Linked DNA regions of Homo sapiens: region 2 is linked to region 1. The links are contacts of gene promoters, found by promoter capture Hi-C in blood cells and fetal thymus (Javierre and others, 2016). All regions are on one chromosome and are shown on one strand. The core of a region is centred on a gene start or on the middle of the fragment in contact, and the rest is flanking DNA. Distances in the headings are between cores, read along the strand shown. Region 1 holds the start of RNF144A (ring finger protein 144A). Region 2 holds the start of ODC1 (ornithine decarboxylase 1).

Evidence for each region. The method cuts DNA at HindIII sites, captures the fragments that hold promoters and counts their contacts. A CHiCAGO score of 5 or more calls a contact.
Region 2: a contact is called between the fragment with the promoter of ODC1 here and the fragment with the promoter of RNF144A in region 1, in 1 of 17 cell types (activated CD4 T cells). The highest score is 5.2, in activated CD4 T cells.

What each region holds. Positions count from the first base shown.
Region 1 is chr2:6,913,467-6,918,661 of GRCh38, forward strand. It overlaps RNF144A (ring finger protein 144A), which reads left to right and starts at 3,946. Exons shown (of 9, transcript NM_014746.6): 1 at 3,946-4,156. GRASLND (glycosaminoglycan regulatory associated long non-coding RNA) reads right to left here. Exons shown (of 5, transcript NR_033997.1): 1 at 4,936-5,195; 2 at 3,384-3,758; 3 at 2,357-2,501; 4 at 727-884; 5 at 1-198. RefSeq lists a silencer at 3,786-4,275. The HindIII fragment of the contact is 2,406 bases long and covers 3,305-5,195 here.
Region 2 is chr2:10,444,501-10,449,695 of GRCh38, forward strand. ODC1 (ornithine decarboxylase 1) reads right to left here and starts at 3,827. Exons shown (of 12, transcript NM_002539.3): 1 at 3,621-3,827; 2 at 655-764; 3 at 431-549; 4 at 1-147. The coding sequence starts at 532. SNORA80B (small nucleolar RNA, H/ACA box 80B) reads right to left here and starts at 2,349; the gene lies at 2,214-2,349. RefSeq lists silencers at 1,764-1,993, 3,218-4,697 and an enhancer at 3,008-3,097. The HindIII fragment of the contact is 2,497 bases long and covers 3,016-5,195 here.

The sequences.
Region 1 (5,195 bases), core at 2,696-5,195:
GAAGGTCACATTCTGGGGTACTGGGGCTTAGAACTTCAGTATACGAATTTTAAGGAGGCACAAGGTGTCCGTGACAGTGCTGTGTTAAGTGACTGGAAGGATGAATTTCCTTTTTCACTTGCACTTTCTTTCTTGAAGTTTTGTTTGAAGCTGCTTGAAGACATCTCTGCATCCTGTCTTATGTGGATGCTACTCCCACTGCAGAGATTATTCGAGAGGTTGGAAAGGTTGGAAAAGAAAGAGAGGATGCTTTTGAAGGGAGAAGGGTAAGAGTACAGACAAGGGAAGCTGTATTAGTCTGTCTGTTCCCACACTGCCAATAGAGACATGCCTGAGACTAGGTAATTTATAAAGAAAAAGAGGTTTAATGGACTCACAGTTCCACATAACTGGGGAGGCCTCACAATCACGGCGGAAGGCAAGGAGGAGCAAAGTCACAGCAGGCAAGAACATTTGCAGGGGAACTCCCCTTTATAAAACCATCAGATCTCATAAAACTTATTCACTGTCACGAGAACGGCACAGGAAAGACCCACCCCCATGATTCAGTTACCTCTCACCTGATCCCTCCCATGACATACGAGAATTATGGGAGCTACAATTCAAGATGAGATTCAGGTGGAGAGACAGCCAGACTGTATCAGAAGCTTTGCCAAGAAGACCCGGAGAGTAGCAGGAACTCTCCTCTGTTCTTTGGCATTACCCTGTGAAGGCTGTGTGGCTCACCTGGGGACTGTGCCTCTGGCAGGAAAGTCTTGTGCTGTCTGCTCCTGAGAGAAGGCATGGCTTCTGGAATGAGATGATCAGTAGCACAGATGGGCTGAAGATGAGACGTTACATTCCACATTCCCAGAACCATAATATCCCCCAGATTCCTCTGTGTCCTTAAGGAGAGAAAGTCAGAATGAGAACTGACATTTGATTTCCTGCTACTCTAGAGAAACAAGAAATGGAATTTGTTAATTTTTAAAATAAAAAAAGTGAATTTTCTATATTTATGGAATGTGTGATTACAAATTCACATAAACTTCCTTGTCTAATTTTTTTTCTTTTCTTTTTCTTTTTCTTTCTTTTTTTTTTTTTTTGAGACTGAGTTTCGCTCTTGTTGCCAGGCTGCAGTGCAGTGGTGCGATCTCGGCTCACCGCAACCTCTGCCTCTGGGGTTCAAGCGATTCTCCTGCCTTAGCCTCCCGAGTAGCTGGGATTATAGGCATGTGCCACCACGCCTGGCTAATTTTGTATTTTTAACAGAGACAGGGGTTTCTCCATGTTGGTCAGGCTGGTCTTGAACTCCCAACCTCAGGTGATCTGCCTGCCTCGGCCTCCCAAAGTGCTGGGATTACAGGCATGAGCCACCACACCCAGCCCCTTGTCTAATTTTTTAAAAAAAATTCAAGTGTGGGTCTTGAGCTTCCCTTGATTTTCTGTCTAGAAGAGAAGTGTCAGAACGGCTATCTGCTTTCCCAGCTTCTGGGCCATTTGCTGCAGCACTGAGTCGCCAGCCTGCTTCGCATGAGCAGGGAAATTTTGCCCATCTAGGTAATCAGGAAGAGCTTGTTCAATGAGTGAAGGGTGAGTCATACTGCATTGGCACAAACTCTTGGCAACAATGAGTGTCCTTTACAATGGGCTCTATGGGACAGCCCTCTGGGGGAGATGGGCCAGCCAGACCTGAGTAAGGGGCTGGACTGAAAACTGACAGTGACAGGTGGAAGTGAACTTGAGAGACCCAACAAACTTCTTGTTGGAGAGAACTAGGACAGCTGCTCAGAGGCAAAGCTCAGAGTAGAGGATTTCACTCAGTATTTATTGAGCACTTATTATGTTCAAGGCCCTAAGAGGGAATATGTAGAAAAATGCTGTTCTCTAGAATCGTAAGATCTAAGCATCAGAAAGTGAATGCCACAAACATTAAGTGTGGCAGATGCCATGATCAACACAGACAAAGACTAAGTATTACACCAGCTCAGAGATCAGAGATCTAGGGATGGGGAACTCCATGATAGGCCGGGAAGTCTTTGCAGGGAAATCTGCATCTGAGTGCCTTTTGAGGCCTGCTGCAAACAAAACTTTCAATGCCAGTGTCCCCTCTCACTATCTCCCCAACAATGGTTGCATTCACAAAGACAGAGCAGGGGAATGAAGTCACATGTATTACCACATGAGCAATTACAAGTCTCAGTTGGGTCAGGGCATTTTTGCACCTTAACTCTCTTCCTGCAGCCCCAGATGCTCCTTTGCAGTCCCCCAGCTTGAGTGTTATACGTCTGTGTTCCATGAGAATGCCTGCATCTTAATACAGACCCCTTTATTGTGGGGAACACAGCACAACGTCTGTGCATTTGCAGTCACCCACCTGTGCATCCCCTGAATCCTTCATTCATAAGTAGTACTCAACCAGGAACTTCTTTGGTATCCCAGCTCGGACACGGGAGGTGTGAATATATTTTTCATAAAGCCCAGGCCTTTATGCAGAACGATTTTCATCCTCTAGTGAGAGGCTGAAGTAACAAAGTGCTGTTGTTAAGATTCTTCCCATTGTGCATTTTTCTTGAATAATGACATTTCTAAAAAGAATCTGAAACTGAGGCATTAGAAGGCAAGTGCTCGTTCATATATTTGAAGAGGTCAAATATTTACCAGAATAACTTCTCAATACAGAGGGGACAGCTTTATTTTATTTTACTATAAAGATGTATGTGTAGCAGAAGACAAATTATGCAGAGCTTTGAGTTAGTTAAGAATCATCTGATTTAATTCTTTGGAGAAATGAGACAAATTGTAGCTAAGGACTATGGAGTTGTTTTAGTTTGCCAGTTATATTTAATTTGACTATTTCTTTATTTATTGAGAGACAAAGTCTCACTCTGCTGCCCAGGCTGGAGTGCAGTGATGCAAACACAGCTCACTTCAGCCTTGACCTCCTGGGCTCAAGCAGTCCTCCTGCCTTGGCCTCCCAAAGTGCTGGGCTTACAGGTGTAAGCCATGGCACTTGGCCTATTTGACTTGTTTAATCCCTCCGAAGAACTCATACATACTATTGCCACCTCATTTTCCACGTAAGAAAATGGAAGCACGAAGACCTTAATAACTTGCTTAATGGCTAGTAGGTGGTAGAGCTTGAATTTAGACCACACAGTGTGGAGGGTATGCTATTAAGGAAAAACGATGTTCTAGTGGGGTTTCCATTTAATATTGCAGAAAAAAGAATCTATATATTTAAGAAGGTGTTATTTCATGCACACTCGTAGGTTTTGTTCATATATGCACATCTGACGTATAATTTAACATTTGTGTAACTTCAAGCTTCTATGGGGAGTGGCAGAAGATGCAGGAATTCTATTAATACCTTCGCAGATCTTAGATTCCAACAAGCTGGATACCTTAAGAAAAATAAAGAAATTGCTGTGCTTGGATCCCAGATGTCCATTCCACCTTTTGGGACCTCCCGGGGGGCCCTCTTTTCTTCATCCTTCAAGACAAGGATAGTGGGGTGAACAGACAGACTTTCCTTGCGAGGGTTGGCTCAGGAAGGCTCTGGGCTCATCTCACAGCCGCCCCAGCGAGGGTCGGGGAGGCAGGTGCTGGCTCCGGTGGGGTCTGCGGCAGAGCAGGACTGGAGCCCAGGGCGCAGCTGCACAGCTCAACGCCGGTTCGCGCCCTGGTTTACAGCGTTGGGCTGGGTCACCCCTTCTTTCCTAGCTTGCTGCTGTGTGTTCCCTCGGTGTAGGAATCAGGGGAGTGTCTTCTGGAGGCCACTAAAGCAGGAATAGCATTTTCATGTTAGCGTGCACGGGCGGTCTCCGCAGCCCCTCCTCGTGCCGGAGCCTGTCCTGGGGCCTGCGGGGCGGCTCCGGGCCTCGGGCCGGCGCAGGCGGGCGGCAGGGGGCGCTGTGCGGCTCGGCGCGGGGGCGGGGCCGGGGCCGAGCCTCCCGCGTGCCCGGCCTCTGTGCGCGCTCGCGCCCCGCCCGCGCAGCCGCTTCTCCCCGCGCGGGCTCTCGGCAGGCGGGAGGCGGCAGGGCTGGCATTGCAGTGCGGGCCGTGCGGGCTGCGCGGGCGCGGGGAGGCGCGGGCGGCAAACTGCGGGCACCCGGCACCCCGCAGCCAGTACCGGGCGGAGGCGTCAGAGCCGCGCACCGCGGACGAGCAGGCCCAGGTAGAGTGACGCGCGTCCCCTTTGTGTCCGCATCGCCCGGGCCGGCCGCGGAGCGGGGAGGGCGGGACGCGGCGCTGCGCGGCCGGCCTTGGGGCTCGGGGCTTGCGGCCGCGCCTGCCCCGCTGGGTCCTGCCCCGGCGCCCGGTGGCAGCGGGCGGGGGGCAGCGTCCCGGGCGGGGACTCGCGGGCTCCGTTCAGAGGACGCCCGCCCTGCCCTGCCCGTGTCCCTGACCTCGTCCCTGCTCTGCTCCTGCCCTGCCCTGCCTCTCGCAGGCGGCGCCCGCGCCCCAGGGCAGTGGGCGCTTAGGGACCTGGCGTCCCCCTGCCTGCCCTGCGCGGTCGCGGGTCTGCGCTGCGGCGCGGGACAGGGCGCCCCGGGCCAGGGTCCCGCGGGCGAGCTGGCGGCGGGGGCTTTCAAGGTTCGCGGCCCCGCCCGCAGACCCTGGGGCTGGAGCCTCGGCCCCAAGAGGAGGTCTGGGAAAGGACGACGCGTCCGGGGCATCGCCACCGGCGGGGAAGGTCGGAACTGGCCAAGAGGATGCCCCGCACATCCCCTGCGCGCGGGGTCCGCGGCTGCTACTGCCCCTGGTCCCCACCGCGAGCCCTTTCCCGGGGAATGAGCCGCCGCCCGAGCCCCGGAGTTCCCTGCGGGTCTTACCCACCCCAGCCTCCGGCCGCCGACCCCAAGCCCCCTGCACTGTGCTTGGCTCCCAGCTGTTTGGTCGCTTATGCCATCCTGGAGGCTTCCTGGTCCTGGGGTGAAGGGGTGACTTCTTTACCCTAATGGTCTTCGTAGGCAGGTCTCAGGATGTCCACTCCAAAGTTCGTGGTCTTTTTTCTAGAGAATAATAATTTTTAAAATCCATTGAACTGGCCGGGCGCGGTGGCTCACGCCTGTAATCCCAGCACTTTGGGAGGCTGAGGCGGGCGGATCACGAGGTCAGGAGATCGAGACCACGGTGAAACCCCCTCTCTACTAAAAATACAAAAAATTAGCCGGGCGCAGTGGCGGGCGCCTGTAGTCCCAGCTACTCGGGAG
Region 2 (5,195 bases), core at 2,577-5,076, 3.5 Mb after region 1:
GGTAGCAGCAAGGGTCTTCACGATGGCTTTGCTATCATTACATTTGACTGCATAAAAGGGGGTGACACGAGGGAGAGCTTTTAACCACCTCAGATGTTTCTTTAGAATGTCTCCCAGGTCTGCCACATAGAAGGCATCCTTATCATCCTGAAACAAGAGTGGTCACAGGTGACTCACTAGCAGCCTCACCACACACCACACCAATAGCCAGCGACCTTCATTCCCATCAGTCACAATGAATCCTGCTCTTTTGAGTCTAGCCACTGATATGAGTATCACCATTATCACTATTAATTTACCACCAGTGAATTAATTTCTACATTCCATAACAAGACATGTAAGCCTCATTGCTCTTCCTTAGACCTTGCCAAAGTTTTCCACTTGCCTGGCACTCTCAGCTGCACTGCCAGCATGGGCCTCATATACTTACAGAAGAAGAAACTTCATTAATTTTCTGGTCCAGAATGTCCTTGGCAGTAAAACCTTCATCGAGGAAGTGGCAGTCAAACTCTTCATTACCAAAGTTGTTCATGATTTCTTGATGTTCCTCTGAAATGCAACAAAATGCAAATAGAGTGGAGAAATTCACTTAGAAGCCTTAGCAATACAATTCTTAAGATTAACCTGCAACATAAATGTAAACTGAATACTTACATGGAAAACTAAGAGATGGAATTGAAAGAAATATTTCCAGCTTCTCACAAAGGCAACTCTCCAGGAATTCCAAATCCCTCTGCGTGTGCCCTTGGAACAGCAGTGACAATCTGAGAAATAAAATAGGGAATTTGCTGTCTACCTTAGGAACACATCGAGTTGAAGATGGGGCACTGGCTGAGCACACGCAGAGCTAATCATGCCCCGGATATGAACCACTCACTGGCCTGGTCATCCTAATTATTACTAGGCATAAGGTACATGATTCCATAAACCTTGGCAGTATAAGGACACAACAAAAAATACCAGGTTTTTCCAAGGCAGCACACTAAGCATTTCAAATATTTGTACCAAAAAAATCTAGCATGCAAGTTTCAGAAGCTTATCTGCACTTAGCTCACTGATATGGAAAAAAGTCTTATAATGGTCTGATTTATTTCAGAGCAGTTTCAGTTCCTTAGAAACTTAAAATAGCATTATAGACTTTTTTATTTTTTTTGAGACAGAGTCTCACGCTGTCACCCAGGCTGGAGTGCAGCGGTGCAATCTTGGCTCACTGCAACCTCTGCCTCCCGGGTTCAAGCGATTCTCCTGCCTCAGCCTCCCCAGCAGCTGGGATTACAGGCGCCTGCCACCATGCCCGGCTAATTTTTGTGTTTTTAGTAGAGACAGGATTTCACCACGTTGTCCAGGTGGGTCTCAAACTCCTGACCCCAGGTGATCCACCCGCCTCGGTCTTCCAAAGTGCTGGGATTACATTATAGCCTTTATACACAGCCATACAAACATTTCCTACTTCCACTAAGTCTTAGAATGATTTTTACTGACCAACAGGCATCATGGAAATGTCTGGAGCATTTGAGATTTTACGAGTTAATTTTCATGTATTAGCTGGGTATATACTTCTTAAAAACTGTAATCTTCAAGTCAACTTATCACATTGTATTACAGTTGCTGTTACCTGATCAGAATTCAGTATTTTTTTTTTTTTTTTTTGAGACAGAGTTTTACTCTTGTTGCCCAGGCTGGAGTGCAATGGCATGATCTCGGCTCACCTCAACCTCCGCCTCCTGGGTTCAAGCGATTCTCCTGCCTCAGTCTCCCGAGTAGCTGGGATTACCGGCATGTGCCACCACACCCGGGGCCTGGCTAATTTTATATTTTTAGTGGAGATGGCGTTTCTCCATGTTAGTCAGGCTGGTCTCCAACTCCCGACCTCAGGTGATCCGCCTGCCTCAGCCTCCCAAAGTGTTGGGATTACAGGCGTGAGCCACCACGCCCGGCTAGAACTCAGTATTCTTAAACCAGCGTTGCCTACCAAGTTTAGCAATTCCGGGAATGCCAACTGTCCTTACAGTCACTCTCGTATTTGCTTAGCTATGAGAATAATTTGGGGCTAACTTCACCAAAAAAGAAAAACAAGCAAGAACATCACTCTAGTAACAATAAAAGCCACTGTATTTTGCTTTCATCAAATGTGGCACCTTGTGAACCAGCTTTCTTAAAATTATTTATTTTAACCTTTAAAAATTTCTGCCAGGTAGAGCTTTCTTCTTTTCCACTGTGCAACCCACTTCAGTGCCAGCAGCCTACGGGCACAGAGGCCAGGCAATGGTTCGGGGACACAGTTTGCTCTGGCATGGGGTACTATGACAGGCCCAGGGTGACGGGCCTGTCATAAATCCAAACCCATGCATAGAATTTGCTTTAAAGCTCTATCTATTGTGACTGCTTGGCATTGTCAACCTCCGAAGTTGCCTAAATCACCCCTCGGAGAAGGGAAGAGAGTAACAACGCTAGCAAAACCATTTTTGTTACAGACATGGTTATATATTTTTGTTTATATGAAGAATATTTACAATTTAATAATAAATAGGCTCATGCAGTCTCGGACTGGGTCATTTGAGGCCTTATTAAATATTTTTAAGGCAATGTTCAGGCCTAAACTTGGAAAGTTTTGATTTCTTTTTAATACGCCAATACTTTTTTGCTTTTCTGTATCTTTTAAGGCGTTACTTAAGTAACTTACTTGAATATATTTTACTGAAGAACACCTTTCGGTCTTTCTGTAACAGCTAAGTTATTTAAAATGGTCAATCAATTAGCACAAGAGGATAATGTTAGAAGAGATAGGGGCTAATTCAAACAAACTTTGAAAAAAATTTCACAAATCAATTAAAGTCTGCCCAATTTTATGTTTAAACAAAGTCAGCCAACACATTCTTTGTCCTCCCCAGACATTCCTGAGAGGTTCTGCCTTCTACACTTTCACCAATTATTTCGACTTCGCAAACAGCACAATCAGCCTTTTCTGCAAACCTTAGGGCTGTCTCCCCTGTGTATGTCCGTTCATCTAAGCCAAGCTTTTCCGAAATCACCGAGTCATTCACAGTCCTTAAATAAACACCTCTAAGTCATGGCCGAGCATCTAATATCACAGCTACTACAGCAAGACTATCTTAGCTCTACCCACTCTCGCGGGTTTCCAAATTGGTGTCATCTGCTCTGTAGACACAGCGAAAATAAAAACTGGAAGGAAACTGAAGGCGCCAAGGCCGGGGCCCGCTCGTCTGTACCAAGGCGAGCCCGGGCTCTGCGCCCCTGCACCTGCTGCGCGGCCGCCAGGGCCTCCCCAACGGCTCCCCGGCCAGCGCGCGGCCGCCGAAGGGTTGGGAAAGAGGCCGGCGCGGGGCCGCAGGGTCTCCGGGTGGGTCTCCCCTAGGCCCCTCCAGCCCCGAGCTGTGAAGACGGGGGCAGAACGAGGCGCCCGGATCACCCTTATCCAGCCGCGGGAGAACCCCGGGCCGGGAGGAAGCGGCGCCTCAAGGTCGTGGCCCGCTCGGCGACCACGTGTCTCCGCAGGCCGGCGAGGCGCGCCGCACACGTGCCCGGGGCCCGGGGCCCGCAGCCCGCCCCGGCTCCCGCCCTCGCTCCCTCCCTTCCTCCGCGGCCGGGGAGTCCCTCACCTCAGAGCGCCCAGGCGCCGCAGGCCAGCCCCATGGGGAAGCGCAGACGCCGGAGCCTGAGTCGCAGCCGCAGGAGCGCTCGGCCGCCCCCGCCGCGCCCGTCAGCGCCTGGCTCCCGCCCGCCGGAGACGCCGGCCCGAGGTGGCGCCGGAGCTGCTGGCAGAGGGGCGGCGGGCGGCGGCGGCGGCGGCTACAGGAGGGACTGACAAAGCCCCACGGCACGCCGCTCCCTACTTATAGCACCGGCGGGTCGCCATGGAGACGCACCAGCTCAAACCAGCCACGATCGGTTCCGGCCGGGACACCGCCGGGGGAGGGGCGGGGGCCCGGCGGTGGCCAACCCGGGCCCGCGCGGAGCTGGTGGGGCGCCGGCGGGCCGACGTCAGCCGAGCCGAGCACCGCCTGCCCCACGCGTGGCCCCCGCCCCCGGCTTCGCGCCCCGCCCTCCCCGCCCTGCGGCCGCCTCTCCCCGCCCTCCCCGCCCTGCGGCCGCCTCGCCCCGCCCCGCCCTGCGGCGGTCTCGCCCGCCTGGAACTGGTCCGCGCACGCGCACGACGCCGCAGGCCCCGGCCCCGGCCCGCGGCAGCTGAACGGCAGAGCCTGTAGCTGCACAGCTGTGCTTCCACCTGGCGTTCAGTACCTCGTGCCCGAGAGCGGAAAAGGGAAATCGCGAGCGGAGGACCGATGTGCTGGCCACGTGGGCCCCGCCGGGCCGACTCCGGACCCTGCTGCCGCCCATTCCTCCGGTGCAAGGGACCTGGAAGTGATCCCGGTGCCGCTCTGCTCCCACCAGCTAGGGAGCAGAGGCGCGGGAGGGAAGGGGCGTCCCGGGGGTCGCCAGCACGCTGCGGGCAGGGCTGGCAGCCGCCTCCACGCCCCCGCGCTGGAAGCCTCGTCTTTGTAACATCGAGGTATCCTGTAACTAGATGGGTCCTGGCCTGCGGAGGTAGTTTCCCCTGTGAAGCCAGGGACTCAGCCAGGAGCGTGAGGGGACCCGGATCCTGAGTCTCCAAGCCGCCCACTACCCTCTGCTTTACCGGATGGAACTCATCAGTAACTAGGTATCTTTAAGGGCGGCTCCCTGGCGCGCTCTGAGAGTTACGGAAGTCCCAAAATGCTTTGACCGAAAACGTCTAAACAGTGAATACATAAAGCAAAAAGCCGCGTGGGAAATTCGAGTCCCTAGGAGCGCCCAGGGGACGCCTCTGGAGGTGGACTGCCACTCACTCCAGGCCACGCTGGAATGCCCGCACCAGGGAGGCACTGCACTTGAATTGGGGACACTTTTTTTTTTTTTTTTCATTTTTACCTTTCATTCCCTTTTGGACAATCCAGACAGGATATGTCTCTCCCTAGGGTGGGGATTTCGACTCCTTAGGGTGGGAGTACAGCCGATGAAGAGTTAAGGAGAGGAGTGGGTAGATCTAGATCTAGCCTTGGGTGGGTGGGGGCGGGGTTGGAGGAGCTCAGAGCACTGGCCCAGCGCTGCCCCCAACTTGCTGTGTGCTCTTGGACAAGTTATCTCCCTTCTCTGGGCTTCAGATAACCCAAGGATCCTTACATATCTTTATAGCT